Linked DNA regions of Homo sapiens: region 2 is linked to region 1. The links are contacts of gene promoters, found by promoter capture Hi-C in blood cells and fetal thymus (Javierre and others, 2016). All regions are on one chromosome and are shown on one strand. The core of a region is centred on a gene start or on the middle of the fragment in contact, and the rest is flanking DNA. Distances in the headings are between cores, read along the strand shown. Region 1 holds the start of SH3GLB2 (SH3 domain containing GRB2 like, endophilin B2). Region 2 overlaps SPTAN1 (spectrin alpha, non-erythrocytic 1).

The links. Contacts are between HindIII fragments. The CHiCAGO score rates a contact against its expected background, and 5 or more counts as called.
Region 2: a fragment that was not itself captured here is called in contact with the fragment with the promoter of SH3GLB2 in region 1 in 1 of 17 cell types (M0 macrophages); the score reaches 5.4 in M0 macrophages.

What each region holds. Positions count from the first base shown.
Region 1 is chr9:129,025,306-129,030,474 of GRCh38, forward strand. SH3GLB2 (SH3 domain containing GRB2 like, endophilin B2) reads right to left here and starts at 3,026. Exons shown (of 11, transcript NM_020145.4): 1 at 2,787-3,026. The coding sequence starts at 2,849. RefSeq lists enhancers at 887-1,450, 1,451-2,014, 2,015-2,578, 3,263-4,002, 4,003-4,742 and silencers at 1,295-1,526, 2,409-2,918, 2,959-3,388. The HindIII fragment of the contact is 23,138 bases long and covers 1-5,169 here.
Region 2 is chr9:128,572,052-128,577,220 of GRCh38, forward strand. SPTAN1 (spectrin alpha, non-erythrocytic 1) reads left to right here. Exons shown (of 57, transcript NM_001130438.3): 4 at 2,624-2,764; 5 at 3,148-3,294; 6 at 4,772-4,905; 7 at 5,078-5,169. Among named protein-coding and RNA genes, the nearest start is that of SPTAN1, 22 kb to the left of the region's middle. The HindIII fragment of the contact is 765 bases long and covers 2,792-3,556 here.

The DNA.
Region 1 (5,169 bases), core at 1,776-4,275:
TAATATCAGCACTTTGGGAGGCCGAGGCAGGAGGATCACTTGAGCCCAGGAGTTTGAGACCAGCCTGGCCAACGTGGTGAAACCCTGTCTCTACTAAGTACAAAAAAAAAATTAGCCAGGAGTGGTGGCAGGTGCCTATAATCCCAGTTACTCGGGAGGCTGAGGCAGAAGAATCACTTGAACCTGAAAGGTGGAGGTTGCAGTGAGCCGAGATTGTGCCACTGCACTCCAGCCTCGGCGACAGGATGAGACTCTGTCTCAAAAAAAAAAAAGGAAGGAAAGAAGAAAGGAGAGAGGGACTAAGGGAGGAAGGAAGGAAGGCAGGCAGGCAGGCAGGCAGGCAGGCAGGCCTCCCTCACATCCCTCCTCAGCTCTCAGGAGCTACCCTGATGGTACCAAGGGCATCACCCTAAATGTGCACCTCAACACCTCCCCTCCTTACCAAGGTTCAGAGCAGCACTCCCCACCCCGCCCTCCCTTACAGGCCACATCTGCCCAGGTGAGAAGTTCTACCAGGCTTTCCCAAACTAGACGGCATCCATCCCATGTCCACTGCAGTCTGCCTAGCTCCATGATGACGATGCCACCACCTCTCTGGACTTTATAAGTATTACTTCTACCACTACTATTACTGTTACTGCAATTACTACTAATAGTATTAGTACTATCACTCCTCCTGCCCTCTCCCACCCCCACTGGCATCTTGTCCAAATCTGCCTTAGGTTTTCTTGCCTCGGTGCCCTTATCTGGGCTGCTCCTGCCACTTGGACCAACATCATGAGCCCCTCCCTACTTTCTGAGCACAGTTCAGGGGCCCTCCATGCAGGAGACCATCCCAGAATGACCCATACAAAAGGGATCCTGCCCTCTGGATCCTCATCTCAGGGCCAAGGCCTTGTTCCTTGCTGGATCGGGGAGGCTCTTAAAGTTGTTTCTTGTACCTGCAGGGACTGGGAGGTTCCTGAGCCCATCACATGTATTGATCATAAAGAACCCCTCTCCCATCCCTCCTGACTGTCTCCCATCCAGGCCAGCTTGGTCTCAGGCGGAGCCCCTCTGTGGCCTCTCCTGCCAGGTCACATTTCAGGCCTCTCTATCCCCTGGCCTGCCACTCTGCCCCAATCCTGCCAAGAGGAAGGGGTTTGGTGCTGGAGTCCGAGGCTGCTCCCGGGAAAATGGCAGCAGTGGGGTGGGCGTGCAGAGCAGAGAAAGCCTCTATTTATAAAGCTCTCAGCTCCCTCCCTCCCACCCCGAGGCTGGGGCCTGACTGCTGGCTCCCACTCCAGTAACAGTGACCCTGTGGGGCAGCTCCCACCAAGCGGAGCCACACCTAGGCCCTGCCCTGCCTAGGTCCTGAGAGCCCTGGCCAGGTCAGGCAGCAGGGCCCCAGCCCTAGCAGGGAACTGGCAGATCAGGTTCTTCCCAGATGTGGGAGATAGTGTGGTTGCCATACCAACAGCAGAGTGGGTTCCCCCCTCCCAGATGGACTGGGGCCGTCCAATCCGAGGGGCTCTGGGATCCTGGCATCTCCACTAGGGCTGGGGCTGCCCACCAGACTTGGAACACATTAAGCAGTGAATTCTCGCTGGGATGCTAATCCTCAGCGGGACACAGCACCTTCTAGTAAACATGACTACATGGGTTGCTGGCTGGGTGTGGGCTCCTGGGGAGGGGAGTGCCCGGGTTGGGGGTGGGGAGAGAACTGTACTCAACAGAAACAACAACGATGACAACGACAACGACAAAGACAAGACTACAGGACCTGCTCCCAGAACCCTGGGATGGGCCAGCCCCGGGCCTGCGGAATCCCACTGAATCCCATAACCACGGTGTTACACCAGATTTACAGAAGGGGAGGGCGGGGCTCTGAGAGAAGTGACTTGTCCAAGGTCACATGCTGCACAGGTGCAATATTAACCACTTTGACACCAATAATGAGCTTGCCTTTGGTGAGCACACATATGCAGAGTCCCACAGAATCCTCGCATCTGTCCTGGGAGGCAGGAATACTGATCCCATTTTTCAGACTGAGAAACTGAGGCCCAGTGAGATGAAGGCCCCTCCCCCAAGGTCACAGGAGGGCACATTCCCACCCACACCTGACCCTAGGTCTTCCCATGATGTTGAGTTGCCTGTTACTCTCTGCCCCTAAACGGATAGGACTTCTTCCAATCTCAGCATCGTGGGCCTGGACAGCTTCCCAGCCAGACCCCAGCCCTCTCTCCATCCCCCAGGCCCAGGGACCAAGGAAACAGACCTCCCGTGGAGCAGAAAAGAAACAACTCCTGGCTTCCGGCCTGACTATCCAAACGTGTGAAATGGCCATGAGGGACTCATGGCACCAGCCGCCCATTGCACAGGTGCGGAGACTGAGGCTCGGAGAAGGGGTTGTGGTGGACGCATGAGTCCCTGGGCCTGGGACCCAGGTCGCTAAATGCCCCGCCAGGCGCCAGTCACTGCTGGACAAGGGCAGGGAGGTAGCACCCAGCCGGTGCCTCCTCCCCTCCTCAGCCAGGCAGGCGCCAGGGGAGCAGGGTAACCCAACCAGCCCAAAGGGTGGGCACCGGTGCCTCGCCCCAGGCAGCAGGGCCAAGGCCCGGCTCGGGCCGCACGGGCTCTTTCCCTCTTCCGGTCAGCAAGGGCTCAGGGGGGCAGAGGTGTGCCGCGGCGGGGACGAGGGCAGCAGCCCGGGAGGGCTTTCCCGCGTCCCCAGGCGTCTGCCGCAGGGTGCTCCCCGCCCGCCGCACATCCGGGCCCCCGGCGCACGGCGCGACGCCAGGCCTCACCTGCACCGCCCGGGTGAAGAAGATGCCCGCGTCCGACGCCAGCTTCTTCATGTTGAAGTCCATGGCGTGCCCGCACGGCCGCCGCGCACGGCCCGAGCGCAGCCGGCAGCCCCCGGCCCAGCCGCCGCCGCCAACCGCACCCCGCCCACCTGCTGCGGGGCACCAGCCCTCCGCGCACCCGCCTGCCGGCCTGCCCGCCTGCCCGCCCGCCGCAGCCGCCGAGCCAGCCCGAGCGCGCAGGGCGGGGCGCGGAGGCCGCGGGTCGGAGCCAGAGGGGCGGGGGCGGAGCTGGCGGTGCCGGGGCGGGACGGGACGGCAGTGGGGCGGAGCTAGAGGGGCGGGGGCCGGGCTGGTTGGCGGAAGCCGGGCGGAGTCGGAGGGGGCGGGACTGGCGGGACAGGGGCGGAGCGAGAGGGCAGTGGGGCGGAGCTACATGGGTGGGGGCGAGGCCTTGGCGCGGCCAGAGCGGGGGTTGGTCTGGGGAGCAGGTTGTGCTGGGCAGGGCTCGCTGCTGGGCAGTGCTCGCTGCTGCCCCCATGCGCCTGCCGCCGCGGATTGGGCCGGCCTCTTTTTTTCCTTTTACTAAAATTATTAAAACTGGAACACATGTGCTCTTAGATGATTGCAGGTACACGCCATAATTACATATTATTTGCCATCTTACCAATGCTTTTCAAAAGTTTTAATTGATAAATATATATTTACGGCCTACAAGGTGATGAAATTGTGGAATGATGAAATCAAGTTAATTGACATATCCATCACCTCACCTACTTTTTTTGTGGTTAGAACATTTCAAATGTACTCTTTTAGCAATTTTGAAATATGCAATACTTTTTTTTTTTTTTTGTAGACAGAGTCTTGCTCTGTCGCCCAGGCTGGAGTGCAGTGGCGCGATCTCGGCTCACTGCAGCCTCCACCTGCCGGGCTCAAGCGATTCTCCTGCTTCATTCAGCCTCCCGAGTAGCTGGGACTACAGGCGCCCACCAACATGCCCCGCTAATTTTTTGTACTTTAGGAGAGACAAGGTTTTGCCATGTTGCCCAGGGTGGTCTTGAACTCCTGATCTCAGGCAATCTGCCTGCCTCAGTCTCCCAAAGTCACTAAGTGACTGAGTAGTCACCAATATGTGCAACAGATCTCTAAAATGGGCCTCTCTTGCTTTCTCCTCCCACCACCCAGGCCTGCTGCCTCTCCCCTGTTTGTGCCTCTTCATCTCCGCTCTTTATTCACACCCCCTCCCTCCCATTCCCATTTCTTCCACTCTGTTTCCCTTGGGTTTCCTCCCGTTACTCCTCCTCTCTGACCTCTCCTCCTCTCTTCTGCCCTGACCTTGGTGACTGAGCCGGAGTCAGGCTTGGGACTTGCCCTCCACCGCTGGAACAGCTGTTTGTCAGCCTGGGAGGCCCTGTGGCTTCCCCAAATTGGAGGAGGGTTGGGGTGGCGGTCACGGGAAGGGAGGGGGTTCTGGAGCTGGGGCCTGGAGCCCCCTGTGTGGTGAGAGGAGGAGATCAAAGGTTGGGTGACTGTCAGGGTGGAGAGAATGAGCTGCCCTGGGAGCACAGATGTGTGATAACCTTGAAACCAGCTCCTCACAGCCCCAGGCAAGGAGATGACCTACAGGTGCTCCTGACCCCAAATGCCTTCCCTTGGGGCTCAGATAGAGGCTTTGTACTGGTCTTCACCTCTCCTTGCTGTCTACCTCTAGGTTTCCTCTTTTTTTTTTTTTTTCTTTTTGAGATGGAGTCTCGCTCTTTCACCCAGGCTGGAATGCAGTGGCACCATCTCAGCTCACTGCAGCCACCGCCTCCCGGGGTCTAAGCGATTCTCCTGCCTCACCCTCCACAGTAGCTGGGATTACAGGCATGTGCCACCACGCCCGGCTGATTTTTGTATTTTTAGTAGAGACGGGGTTTCACCATGTTGGTCAGGCTGGTCTTGAACTCCTGACCTCGTGATCCACCTGCCTCCGCCTCCCAAAGTGCTGGGATTACAGGTGTGAGCCACCACGCCCGGCCTAGGTTTCACCTTTGAACCCAGTGGAGAGCTCTGTTCCCAAGCTGTACCCTCTTCTATCTGGCTTTGTTCATCTTTCTATACTTACCCCAGTTTCTGTCACCTATCCCAGCATGGCTCTGCAGGGTGAGCCTCAAGTCACCTGGGGGCTTGTTCAAAATCCAGACCCTGTTCCCTCTCCCAGCCCTGGTTCTGGGTCAACAAGTCAATGGCTCTAACATTAAATCACCTGGGAGCTTTCAAAACTCCACCTACCTGGGCCATCCTGTCATGTACTTGGGCCAGTATGTACATGTTGCCTTCATCAACTTTCATGTCATTCACACATCTGCAATCCCTCAACTCTGATTCTCTGTGTTTCTGTTTT
Region 2 (5,169 bases), core at 1,924-4,423, 450 kb before region 1:
ATCTTGCCATGTTGCCCAGGCTGGTCTTGAACTCCGGAGCTCAAGCAATCCGCCTGCCTCGGCCTCCCAAAGTGCTGGGATTACAGGCGTGAGCCACTGCACCCAGCCTGTGTGCTTTATTTTTCCAACCTGTACTTCATTCCTGTCTTCTTTGCTTAATGTTTCCACCATCTGCTTCTCTGAAGGCTCCTGTTGCTTGCTTATGTCCCTACTGAGAAATCCACCTGAGTCAGAACCAGGCTTGCTTGTCCACCCCGTCAGCTTTCCACATGTTTATGAAGTGCACCTGCCTCCCTGCCCACTCACGCTCTCAAATAATAGTAAGCCTGTGAAGCCAGACTCTCTCTAACCTGCAGTATTTACAAGATCAGACACATCAGCAATGGGACAATGGTTCCAGTACTGGGACAGGCCTTGCCCTAGTTCTTTCTTGAGGGTGTAAAAATGAAATATGTGAGATGGACAATTGACTTGAATGTGAGAGGATTTTCTCTAGTCTTCTGTGGCCTCATTTTTAATTTGAGCAGGAGCTCTCATTTAATCTTTTACTTTCATGCTCACAGTTACTATGGTGATCTTGGCTTGGTCATTTATTTGGTCCCCTAACTCAGTACCTTAGTTTGGCAGAAAGTGGTAGCAGAGGAAGGTGGGTGGCATGTGAGGGCATGTCTGTGTCCTGGATAACCTGTCTGTCACTGGTTTAGACTTTCACACCATACCGGACAGCGTGGCGCCCCATAGTCACCGCCACCCACATCGGGTCCCACATCCGAGTAGGTGGAGTATTGACTTGGTTGCCTTTTCCCCCTTGCTTTGGAGTGCCTTTCACTTCTTTCTCAGTGGTGGGGTCACAGTTTTGCCAACAGTGGTGGAAGTGAATTGTGTGAGCATGTATTCCTCTGCTGCTTTCTCCTTTCAAGTAAAACATCCACACTTGTTTCTAAGAGAATCCACCCATGTTGACTGTCACATGGTTTTCAGGTTTTCATTTTGCTAGGAGTGACATCTCAATCATGGGTGGATCCCAGACTTCTTTTCTGTTAGTGTTTAAACCGCTTTGTTTGTTTTACTTATGTCTGTCAGTGTTGTACAGAAACTCCCAGTATCTTGGGTAGGCATAATCAAGGCATTGAGGTTGGATTGGAATACCAGAATGCATCATCTAAGCTTGAATTGATTACTAATTTCCTCCAATTCTTGATAAGTCCTTACTGGGCCTGTGTTATGAGAACCCAAAGATGCTGGGAAGTGAATACGTTTGACCCTGTGGCTGCCACTTGGGTGAAGTTTGGAATAAACCTCACTTGAGATGTACCACAAACTGTCTTTTCACAGAAGGTCCAAAGTTTTTTCTATCAGGGATCCTTTTTGATAGCTGATGACTTTTCAGGACCCCATCTTTTCTACTTTTTTATTTTTCCCGAGATGGATTCTTGTTCTGTTGCCCAAAGCTGGAGTTCAATGGCACAATCTTGGCTCACTGCAACCTCCACCTCCCAGGTTCAAGCAATTCTCCTGCCTCAGCCTCCCGAGTAGCTGGGATTACAGGTGTGTGCCACCATGCCCGGCTAATTTATGTATTTTTAGTAGAGACGGGTTTCACCATGTTGGCCAGGCTGGTCTCGAACTCCCGACCTCCTGATCTGCCCACCTCAGCCTTCCAAAGTGCTGGGATTACAGGAGTGAGCCACTGCGCCCAGCCCTTTTCTACTTTTTTTTTGAGACGGAGTCTCGCTCTGTCGCCCAGACTGAAGCACAGTGGCACAATCATGGCTCACTGCAAGCTCCAACTCCCTGGGGTCAAGTGATTCTCCTGCCTCAGCCTTCTGAGTAGCTGGGATTACAGGTGTGCGCCCCCATACCCGGCTCATTTTTGTACTTTTAGTAGAGATGGGGTTTCACCATGCTGGCCAGACTGGTCTTGAACTCCTGACCTCGTGCTCTGCCCGCCTCGGCCTCCCAAAGTGCTGGAATTACAGGCATGAGCCGCTGCACCCAGCCTCCCCTTTACTACTTTTCCACCAAGATTTTCCTGTTGTGCCTCATAGTTTTTACATTGATGATGCCTATAAGACCTCTTCTTTTGTTTTTTTCCCTTTATCTCCATGAATTTGGAATACATCCTTCAGTAATTTCAGCTCAGTTTACACATTAATTCCTCATTTTTCCTTTCCCAGTAGTCTTCTGGATTAGGAATTCCACTCTAATAATTTAATAATAATTAATAGTATCAATTGTGTACCTATTATTATATAATACTAAAATATATAACTATACAATATAAATATATCATAAATATAATTATAAATGAAATATAAAGATATTATTAATAATATAAATGATAATGATTTTCCTGATGTAAACTAGAGTAAATCTACCTGTGAAAGAACTAGAGTAGATCTACCTACTTGTAACTTGAAGACCACCAAAAAACCACTGTGAACTGTGGACTTTTCCCTACTGCCAGTTAAATTTACTATTTCCTCTCAGTTTAGGGATTATCTTTTAAAAATATTTTTATTCAGCGCTCCATAAGGTCTCTAACTTGTCTAAACTCTATGGAAGAGCCAGATCCCACAGAGCCAGTTGTGATCTGATTAAAACTCTGATTTGAAACTTTCAGACCCGTTTGATGGAGCTGCACCGCCAGTGGGAATTACTTTTGGAGAAGATGCGAGAAAAAGGAATCAAACTGCTGCAGGCCCAGAAGTTGGTGCAGTACTTACGAGAATGTGAGGACGTGATGGACTGGATCAATGACAAGGCACGTTTTGGGAAGAAGGGTTTGCTAAGCTTTACTCAAAGAAAAGGGAAGAGACTCCTCTGTGATCTGTAGTGAGACCCAGTGTTAGCACAGATACGGCCATTTTAAGTAAAAGGGTGGAAGTGGGGTTGCTGTCTCTCCAGCTGCTCTCTAGGTGTATGTGCTATTCTGTAACTCTGAAGCCTGGAGTCGCTGAGACAGAAATGCCGTGAACTCAACCTCTTAACTTTCTGTGGGAGGAACTAAAATCACAAACCACAGACAAAACTGTATCCATTAAAGCTAACATGGCTCCGTCCCTAATGTGTCTGTTTGATGTTTCTGGAAGCCATTGTTAACAAATGTTGGTTGGTGACTCTGGCTCTCTTATGGTCCCTGAATAGGAAGCAATTGTTACTTCTGAAGAGCTGGGCCAGGATCTGGAGCATGTAGAGGTTTTACAGAAGAAATTTGAAGAGTTTCAAACAGATATGGCTGCTCATGAAGAAAGAGTTAATGAAGTGAACCAGTTTGCTGCCAAACTCATACAGGTAAATAGCAAAGTGCTGTATGCTTCTCACAACATTATTATGTTAACTTTTTAGTATATTCAGGATAAAATTTTGATGATTGGTCCCCTAATTTCTGAGTGAGCAAGTTTTTGTAAGCATGTCTGAGAGTTTTGTTTAGATGTGAGGCACAATACTGATTACTCCTAAATTGGAAAATGCTTTTCAATGTGTTGCCTTGGGCAGGAAGGGCAGAGTTCATTTGATCTGTTTCCTCTACCCACTTTTGGGTAGGGCTGGGTGAAGCTTTTATTGGACTGCTGAAGCTAGGTCTCAGGGTTTCTCAGACGAGGGTGTGGTGGTGAATGCTAAGTTAGTATTGGCAGATGTCCACCAATGCATTAGGGCTCTTGCCTTCCTTTTTTATTTGAAGCTTCCCTGGGCTCTCTTGGGAGCCTGGGAGAACCTTGTCGTGAATAGGCTCTCCACTCTGGCGCTGGAGCCCATTAAGAGGGAATGACAACCCTTCCCCAGTGCCCACGTGTACAATCCTGTAAGCTGCTTCCACTACGAGTCCAAAGGGTTCCAAAGACATCAAGTACTCGGAACCAGAGAGTTTTTACTTTTAGGGAAATTTGATTTGGGGGGTACAAATTTTAAGTGTATAAATCTGCTTATAGGCTGGTACTTGTTTCCATTTTCTGGCCAGTGATTAAGAGAAAGATACCCGGCATTCCTCAGAAATATCTCACCCTTCCACAGTGACAGATGTGTTGCTTTTCCAAACCCTAAGCTTTCCTGCGGTTGAGCTTGAGAAAAGTAGTCAGGCCAAACCCATGGTATCCCAGATGGATTCAAGAACCCTGAAATGCTTCATTTTATTACTTTGTATCATATTTTTTAAAACACCAAAATGTGGTTGGTAGGGAAGGATACTTTTAAAGAAATGTCTCTAAGCTTGATGCAGTGGCACCTGCCTATAGACCCAGCTACTCTACTCAGACTCAGGCTGACAAGACAGGATCACTTGAGACCAGCCTGGGTAACATAGCAAGACCCTGTCTCAAAAAAGAAAAAAAGAAATGTCGTCAGTCTAAAGCCAGGGACAAACTCTTGAGCCCCGAAAATTATGTTTATGTGCAAGAATGCTTAACAGCCTCATGAACATCTGAAATACCAAATTTTCAAGCAGTTAGGGTAGATGAGTACATTGATAAAGTTACCACACAGTTGTTGCCAAACTATTTATTAACATAAAGGTTTTTGGCACTTTTGCACATAACCACCTTATAGACTAACCACACTACTCCAAAAGATAGAGAATGGCTCTCCCCTTTTTACATAAGAAATAGAAACTCTTTGGAGTTGTAGTTCACTTTGTATCATGTTGACCATTATTTCTTGTGATTCTCTTCAGAGTGGTGATTTGCTGAGATGCTTCAAGGAACCAACCCCAGGGTAACTAGTTGGAGGAGCCAGAAGTTGTGTACAAATCCAGTCTCTTCTCTTCCTTGTTTAGGAGCAGCACCCTGAGGAGGAACTGATCAAGACTAAGCAGGATGAAGTCAATGCAGCCTGGCAGCGGCTGAAGGGCCTGGCTCTGCAGAGGCAGGGGAAGCTCTTTGGGGCAGCAGAAGTTCAGCGCTTTAACAGGTGTCAAGCCAGAGTGGGCTTTGGGGAATGGGTCTCAACCTGGAGGGGAGTTGTGAAGCACAGGGCATGTGCTGGTGAGCTGTCGAGGCTGACTAGGCCTTGGTCCCATGGGGTGTTCCTAGTTCTAGGGAGTCATCATTGCTGTGGATTAACTGGTGCCTTTGTTCTGTAGGGATGTGGATGAGACTATCAGTTGGATTAAGGAAAAGGAGCAGTTAATGGCCTCTGATGATTTTGGCCGAGACCTGGCAAGTGTTCAGGCTC